Regions from separate parts of the Homo sapiens genome. Here all the other regions are linked to region 1. The links are contacts of gene promoters, found by promoter capture Hi-C in human tissues and cell types (Jung and others, 2019). All regions are on one chromosome and are shown on one strand. Each heading gives the region's core, a stretch centred on a gene start or on the middle of the fragment in contact. The rest is flanking DNA. Distances are from core to core; before and after follow the strand shown. Region 1 holds the start of RAMP3 (receptor activity modifying protein 3). Region 2 has its middle 9.8 kb from the start of PPIA. Region 3 holds the start of MIR4657 (microRNA 4657).

Region 1 (2,619 bases), core at 35-2,534:
CTCAGCTCCTGGGAAGGTAGCAGTACCTACGGCTCAGAGGAGTGGAGGGCCCATCCATGTAGGAGCCTGGGCCTGTGCCCCAACCTCAGACCAGCATGTGCCCCCAGGGGTGGTGGGTGGGCCCTGGAGGGCAGAGAGGTGCCTCTAGCTGGCTCTCGGAAGTCCTGACCAGTGACAATTCTTAAGACACCATTAAGTGTCCACTGGAGCCAGGGCCTGTGCTAGGGGCTGAGGGTGACAGAGGTGACCCATCTGGCCAAGTGACCTGTGGCTGGAGAAACTGAGGCCCTCCTTCGCCTCAGGGACCCTGACACTCTTCAAGGCCAGGTCTTTGGTGGTGCCAGATACTCTCCTGTCCCTTGGTTTGCTTGTGGCTTGGTTCTTGGTGTGTGATACGTCTCTGTGTGTGTAGTTGCCACACCCTCCAGTCTCTCTCATACACACTGTTTCCCAAGCATACACTCACAAACACACCTTGTCTCAGACTCAAACACACACATGCCACACACACACCATACATCACACACTCCATGCACACACATGCATCTACACACACCCCACATGCACATCACACACACGTACTCCATGAACAACACACACACGCACACACACAGACGCACACACACACACCCCCCAACCTCTTTTATGCACTTTCCTGACCTTTGGAGACCTGGCTCCTAGATGTATCTCTGCTCAAAGTTCCCCTCCCTGCCTGGGGGCAGCTCTGGACTCTGGTCTACTTTCGGCCAGGGCACACCTAGCCCACTCCCAGGTCCACCTTCCTCCAGTCTACCCCCAGACTCCTCTAGGCCATCATCAGCCAGCGCTTCATCCTCACCTCAGCTCCCTCCCCGGTCTACCCCCACCCTCTGCCCCTGAGCCTGGACGGAAGTTCCCCAAGTCTCTCCAGCCTGCATCCCAGCCCACCGTCAGCCGGCCCCCACGCTCACCCCAGCTCACCTCCCAGTCTGCCCCTACAATCTGCTCCCAAAAAGCTCCTTTGCAGCTCAGCACCCCAGCCCCGCCCTCAGAGCCCATCAGCCGGCACCCCACCTTACCCCAGCTTGTCCCCAGCTCGAAACCCTGCCCTCGCCCCCCTCTCACCCCGCTGAGACTCCAGCCGCCCCCATCCCTCCCACCCGGCGCGCCTGCAGGGACTGCACCCCACATCTGGAGGCAACGGGGCACGGCCGCAGGCGTGGTCTGGGGGTGCGGCCTGAGGGCGGACCCCCTGAGGCCCCGCCCCACCCCAACCCCAACCGGGCGTCCCCCAGCCGCGCCCCCAGCGGGACCGAGCGTGACCCAGCTGCGGCCGGCCAGCCATGGAGACTGGAGCGCTGCGGCGCCCGCAACTTCTCCCGTTGCTGCTGCTGCTCTGCGGTAAGGGGGCGACGGCCCGCACCGGGGGCGCCCCCACTCCTCGGGGTTCACCGGACCCGGGTGGACCCGCGCCTTCCCGCACCTGCGCCGCGGTCCTTCCCTTGCCCCGGAGCTCGGGAGGGGCGCACAGTGACCCTGGCGGGATTCCCAGGCTCTGCGGGAGGGTTCCACCCGGGAGAAGCTGAAGGCGAAGGACTCTGGCGGGCAAGGGAGGCACAGGGCCCCCTCCGGGGTCTTCTGACGGCAGGGTCCGGCAGCCCCCGGTCCTTCTAGTTGTGATGTCCCCCCACGCCCCGGTTCTGGGGTCGCCTCAGGGTGGGCGAGAAGAGGTGGACCAGGTCTGGCTCTTTACCCCTTATCCCCCAGGGTGGGCTGTCTGTAAGGTAGTGAGCTCTCTGTCCTGGCATTGAGTGCCTGCCCACCACTCACAGGGGCGTGGGCGGGTGGACTCCGGACTGGGTAGCTGGTCCTCCCAGGGCCCCTCAGTGTGTGGACGCCTGTGTGTGTCCTGGAACTGGCTGAGAGGGGAAGCGGGGCGACTCTCTGAGCCATCCTCTCCTAATGCCTTCTTCGGCAAGAAATCAGGACTCTAGGAAGAACCATTGCTCACAAAATGGAAATAGATTAAACTAAAAGCTTGTTTTGAAGTACCTTGCTAAAGAAATTATCCAAGAAAAAGTAAGAGAGAGAGAGAGAGAGAGAATGTGTGTAAAGGCTGTTGGGGAAGAGTGCTTGCTGAGGGCTGGGGTCCACTGAGTGGTGACTGAGCCTGGCCAGTTCTGGGGGGGACATTGGTGATGGAGGGCCCTGGCCTGGTGGTCCCCAGTTTCCCTGGCTGTAAGATGCAGAGTTGGGCCTGTTTTGATGATTTGGGATTTGGTACGGGAGGTGGGAAAAGGGTGGACCAAACTCAGTGGTCATTTTCCTTCCATTGAAGAGGTCTTGGTGTGCAGAACTTGTGTGGCTTCATTTGGTGTTCCAGGGCTGGAGCCTAGGATGTGGTGGATTTTGTGTTGAAGTGCAAAGGTGGATGGCAGCTTCTGAAATCAGGAGCATGCTGATTTGGGATTTCAGCAAACTTCCAGTGAGCGCCCCTTAGGTGGAGATCTTGGTCGCTATAGTGGAAGGAAGGTCCTCTCAATTCATTCTGGGAGAAGCTGAGGCTTTCCTGATCATCTCCAGTATCAAATTGAGAAGGACCACAGGCTTCCGCCTGCACAGAATCCCCCCTTAATAATC
Region 2 (2,619 bases), core at 64-2,563, 350 kb before region 1:
CAAGCTGGTATTGCGGCATCAGCTTGTGTAGTAAGATTTGACCTGGTCAGAAAGGTCTCAAATGGCTACCCTGAGAAAGAAGTGGAGCTTGGAAGAAAGGTAACCAGGAAAACCCATCATTTTTCTGCTGGTTGGAGGCTCTCATGGAAACCCTTAGGAAACTTACAAGCTGAGAGGCGGGAGTTTGCCTAGACCACACTGTGAGTTTGCTGTATATATCCACGCCTTACACAGTGAATAAGAAGATACTCAGGGCCGGGCACAGTGGCTCAGACCTGTAATCCCAGCACTTTGGGAGGCTGAGGCGGGTGGATCACCTGAGTCCAGGAATTCGAGACCAGCCTGACCAACATGGTGAAACTCCGTCTCTACTAAAAATACAAAAATTAGCCAGGCATGGTGGCATGCGCCTGTAATCCCAGCTACTTAGGAGGCTTGAGGCAGGAGAATCGCTTGAACCTGGGAGGTGGAAGTTGCAGTGAGCCGAAATTGGCCCCATTGCACTCCAGCCCGGATGACAGAGACTCCGTCTCAAACAAAAAAAAAGATACTTGCCCCAGCGTGGTGGCTCACGCCTGTAATCCTAACGCTTTGGAAAGCTGAGGCAGGCAGATCACCTGAGATCAGGAGTTTGAGACCACCCTGGACAACATGGTGAAACCCCGTCTCTACTAAAAATACAAAAATTAGCTGGGCGTGGTGGCACGCCCCTGTAATCCCAGCTACTTGGGAGGCAGAGGCACCAGAATCACTTGAACCCGGGAGGCAGAGGTTGCAGTGAGCGGAGATTGTGCCACTGCACTCCAGACTTGGGTGACAGAGCAAGACTCCAGCTCAAAAAAAAAAACCAAAAAACTAAAAACTCTGCTTCTCAGAGTTGTGGGGATTAGATATGAAGTACTTAGAAGAGTGGTTAGCACATGGTACATGCATGAACAGTTCTGTTAGTGTGTAAACACCCAGCAGGGATTTGTCTAGCTTTTCACCAGTGTATCCCAGTACCTAGGCTAAAGCTTGGTTCAGAGAAGGCTCAGAAGAAATATCACAGTAACTGTGTGATAGACCCCTTCTGATCCCTTTACAAATATTCTAGGCTGGGCATGGTGGCTCACGCCCGTAATCCCAGCACCCAGGAGGCCAATGCAGGCAGATCGCTTGAACCCAGGTGTTCAAGACCAGCCTGTGCAACATGGTGAAACTCTGTCTATATTAAAAACAGAAAAATTACCCAGGCGGCCGGGCATGGTGGCTCATGCCTGTAATCCCAGAACTTTGGGAGGCCAAGGCGGGTGAATCACGAGGTCAGGAGTGCGAGACCAGCCTTGCCAACATGATGAAACCCAATTTATAGAGGTGGGGATAAGGGACCATCTTTAAGAGTTGCCTACCACAAGTCTATAAAATACAGTTTAAAGACCAGAAATAAAAAGAACCCCAGCATATCTACTAGTATCCCAGAAATGCCCTTTGCAAGCCCTCTTCAGTTGCACGCTCTTTCCTCTTCAGAGGGAACCATGATTCCAATTTTTTTTTTTTTTTTTGAGATGAAGTTTTGCTCTTGTTGCCCAGGCTGGAGTGCAATGATGCAATCTCGGCTCACCGCAACCCTCCGCCTCCCAGGTTCAAGCGATTCTCCTGCCTCAGCCTCCCGAGTAGTTGGGATTACAGGCATGTGCCACCATGCCCGGCTAATTTTGTATTTTTAGTAGAGACTGGGTTTCTCCATGTTGGTCAGGCTGGTCTCGAACTCCCTACCTCAGGTGATCCTCCTGCCTCGGCCTCCAAAAGTGCTGGGATTACAGGCGTGCTCAGCCCATGATTCCAATTTTTGTGTTCATCAATCTCTAGCACCTGTGTCCCTAAAAACATATTGAGAAAAAGTGAGAAGCAAGCACAAACCTAATTGTGCAAAGAAAGGTCGAAATTGCCACTATTATGAGGCAGGCTCCCAGGAGAAGGCAAGTTGAGCAGGCTGGGTTAGAGTGTGGCCTCAGGGTCTTTGAGAACACAAGAACTATTTCTGGGAAAGTCAGCCAATGCCTTTCTCCACCTCAGAAAATCTGTAAAATCTATAATATCTGGTTCACAGTCAGATGTTCCCCCTTGTTCTTATAATGTGTTTTTATGTTTATTGCTTTTTAAAATTCTTTTTCAGTCCAGGTACGGTGGCTCATGCCTGTAATCTCAGCACTTTGGGAGGCCGAGGTGGGCAGATCACTTGAGGTCAGGAGTTCGAGACCAACCTGGCCAACATGGTGAAATTCCATCTCTACTCAAAATACAAAATTAGCCAGGCATGGTGGTGCATGTCTGTAATCCCAGCTACTCAGGAGGCCGAGGCAGGAAAATCGCTTGAACCTGGGAGATGAAGGCTGCAGTGAGCCAAGATCGTACCATTGCACCCCAGCCTGGGCAACAGAGCGAGACTCTGTCTCAAAATAAATAAATAAATAAAATTCTATTTCAGGGTTAATAGGTGCAGCAAACCACCATGGCACACATATACCTATGTAACAAACCCGCATGTTCTACACATGTATTCCATATTTTTATTATTTTTTTTTTGAGATAGAGTTTCGCTCTTGTTACCCAGGCTGGAGTGCAATGGCACAATCTCAG
Region 3 (2,619 bases), core at 40-2,539, 280 kb before region 1:
CTAACATTAGCAAAGATTTCTACTCTTCTTACACAGAGTTAGAACAATATTCATAAGCAATTATCTAAGGGAGCCTGAGAAACTATGATCCACATCACACAAAGATTTCATGTATTTCATGATCAAAAAGTGCTTTATCTTTGAGAAATGTCAGGGTTACAATGGAAATATACAATGTAAAGTCACTTGATATTTTTTCAAGTGAAGTACAAAGTAGAAAAGGAGCAAAAAGATGGAGGCTCTGCTCTCTGAACAGGCCTTATGCATGTGACTTTTAGGGTGTACGAAATTAAAGTTGTTTTAAGAATTAAAAATAGTGGGACTTTACACCACTATATTCTAAAACCTGAGATTGGACATCAAAACAGTCAACTTTGTTATTCATCAGAGCAATTCTGATACTTCCTAAAAATATAAGATAACTCAACTGAATTAACTCCAGGGTCAAAAACATTAACTTTCCCCAATCAAAAAGGAGACCGATCACTATATACCAAGAGTGCTGCAGAAAGACAAACTCTCAGCAAATGAGTCATTTCTACATAAGCAAAAAAGTCACTTTTCTCCTTCCCTTTCTCACTGATCAAGGCCACACTATTTTCAAATGAATATCTACTGAGAGATCAGTTGTGCATTGGATAAAGTACCATAATTGGGTTAAAAATGAAAACAAAATTTACAGTGAAGAATACTTATGTGCATGGCTTACACACTCCAGCTTCTCAATTTCATCCACCTCAAGAGCAAGATAGATGCAAAGTCACCTTGTGTAGATTACATTCTACACCCCTGTAAAGCCAGTCAAGGTCACATTTAACAAAGCATCTTCAGCAACTACAGTGCCTGAAGTGTGCAGCCGTTTACAGACCACTCAATATGAGGGCATTATTATAACCAGCCTCTTTTGCCCACAACCCTGCATCTTCAGATAAGACAGGATAATTGTTTTGTTTTGAGAAAACTGAAGCTTAAATCTCTTAAAAGACCTGCAATTTACTGCAAAGTAATCCAGAGGTAACAAAGGAAGCAGGAGGTTAACGGCTGCCTGCACCAAAAGCCTCTCAATCATTTTGCAGTAAATAATTATGGAAAGTGATGTGACAAGTAGCCATGTGTGTATCACAGCTACAGTCATTTATACCACGTATATGCCTCCGATAGTTACATAGGGTGTTTGGGTTTTTGGTTTGGTTTTCACTTTGATTTTTGGTGCCATACAGATTTATATTTTGTTCTTGTGCAGCATATGCACTGAAAAACTTGCTGCTGTTCCACTTGCTGAAATGATAGGGACAATAGAAACCAAAACCAAAACATAGAAGGAAGAGTAGTAGGATCTCTTCACAGATTTTTATTCTTTTGATTCTGTTCCTAAAATTTGGCTTTTCACCTTTGTAACTATGGTAGTTTGGGAAACAAACCTTCTAACAATTATATGAAAAGAAGTTTTAGTTTCCTACTTCTCAGGAATATGACTATTTTGATTAGCTGGGATGTTTGCCAAGCTTAAAAAAAAAGGCTCAAAATCATTCATAGCAACAACTGAAAAACAAAAAAATTGGTTGTTTCCCATGTCTGTACAATGCCATTATCTGACTGGAATTAACAAAGACCATTTCCTTTAATAAGCTATTAATAATATTTACGAATGAATCTGTGTTTTGCAGGTTTCTATTGTCCCTAGTGACTGGAGTGAAGATCAGTGAAATGCTACAATTAATCCACAGCCTTCTGCAATCTTCCTGCAGTGGGAAGAGAGGCCATGAACCATCCCTTGCAGGAGAAACAAACCTTAGAGATTGGTTAAGACTTAAAAACCCACCACTATGACATTACCACTTAATCTTACATAGGCAGGTCAAAATTTTAATATAAATTACTTTTGCCAACACATAGCTTATGCATTCTTTGCTCCTTTTTTTGGAGGATTTTCAAATTGATATCTAAAGATTTACATATGATATATTACTGTTACATGGTCTAATGACTAAGAAAATTTCTCTGGTAACCAAAGCTGATGCCATATATGGTAGTGTTCTTGGCATATACTCTATATGCCTCAGACCACTTCCACATTCTTTCTATTCAGCTAATTATAGCTTAGTAGCCACTGGTGAAGGATTGTGAAGACCCTGTCATTTCTACAGAATAGAAAGGCAAGGCTAGTTACTGCAATTCAGCCAAACAAAAAGAAAAAAGAATAAACCAACCCCTTAAAAAGGAGAGGTACTGCACCTTTGCAAAATTGAACTGGCTCACTGCAGCTGAGCAACAGAACCACCACTGAAGCAAGAAAACAAGTTGGTCTATACAAGAATTGTACATGGTTTGAAAATGAAAAAGTTACAGCAATCAACTAATAGCTGCAACTTAAATTTTCATTGCTGCCTCAGAGTTGAAACTTAAATAGTTTCTGCAAACCTAATGCTAGCTTCTCAGCTCCTTTACTAAAACTATTTAGGAATTTGTTCTCCGCAGCAAAGAAATAGACACTCAAAACACGTAGGTAAATACAGCAGGACATTATTGAAAAACAGCTGCCTTGTAGTACAAAATACAGTACAAGTATACGGATGTCATTAAAACATCAAAAATACTATTGCTCCCATACAATTTAGG

What was found. The method cuts DNA at HindIII sites, captures the fragments that hold promoters and counts their contacts. A contact is called where the count stands out against the background at its distance.
Region 2: a fragment that was not itself captured here is called in contact with the fragment with the promoter of RAMP3 in region 1 in 1 of the 25 tissues and cell types used here (spleen).
Region 3: a fragment that was not itself captured here is called in contact with the fragment with the promoter of RAMP3 in region 1 in 2 of the 25 tissues and cell types used here (lymphoblastoid cells and mesenchymal stem cells).

The regions. Positions count from the first base shown.
Region 1 is chr7:45,156,507-45,159,125 of GRCh38, forward strand. RAMP3 (receptor activity modifying protein 3) reads left to right here and starts at 1,285. Exons shown (of 3, transcript NM_005856.3): 1 at 1,285-1,380. The coding sequence starts at 1,323. The HindIII fragment of the contact is 28,590 bases long and covers 1-2,619 here.
Region 2 is chr7:44,805,194-44,807,812 of GRCh38, forward strand. No RefSeq gene overlaps it. Among named protein-coding and RNA genes, the nearest start is that of PPIA, 9.8 kb to the left of the region's middle. The HindIII fragment of the contact is 4,337 bases long and covers 1-2,619 here.
Region 3 is chr7:44,879,724-44,882,342 of GRCh38, forward strand. PURB (purine rich element binding protein B) reads right to left here. Exons shown (of 1, transcript NM_033224.5): 1 at 1-2,619. It overlaps MIR4657 (microRNA 4657), which reads right to left and starts at 2,077; the gene lies at 2,025-2,077. The HindIII fragment of the contact is 4,835 bases long and covers 1-2,619 here.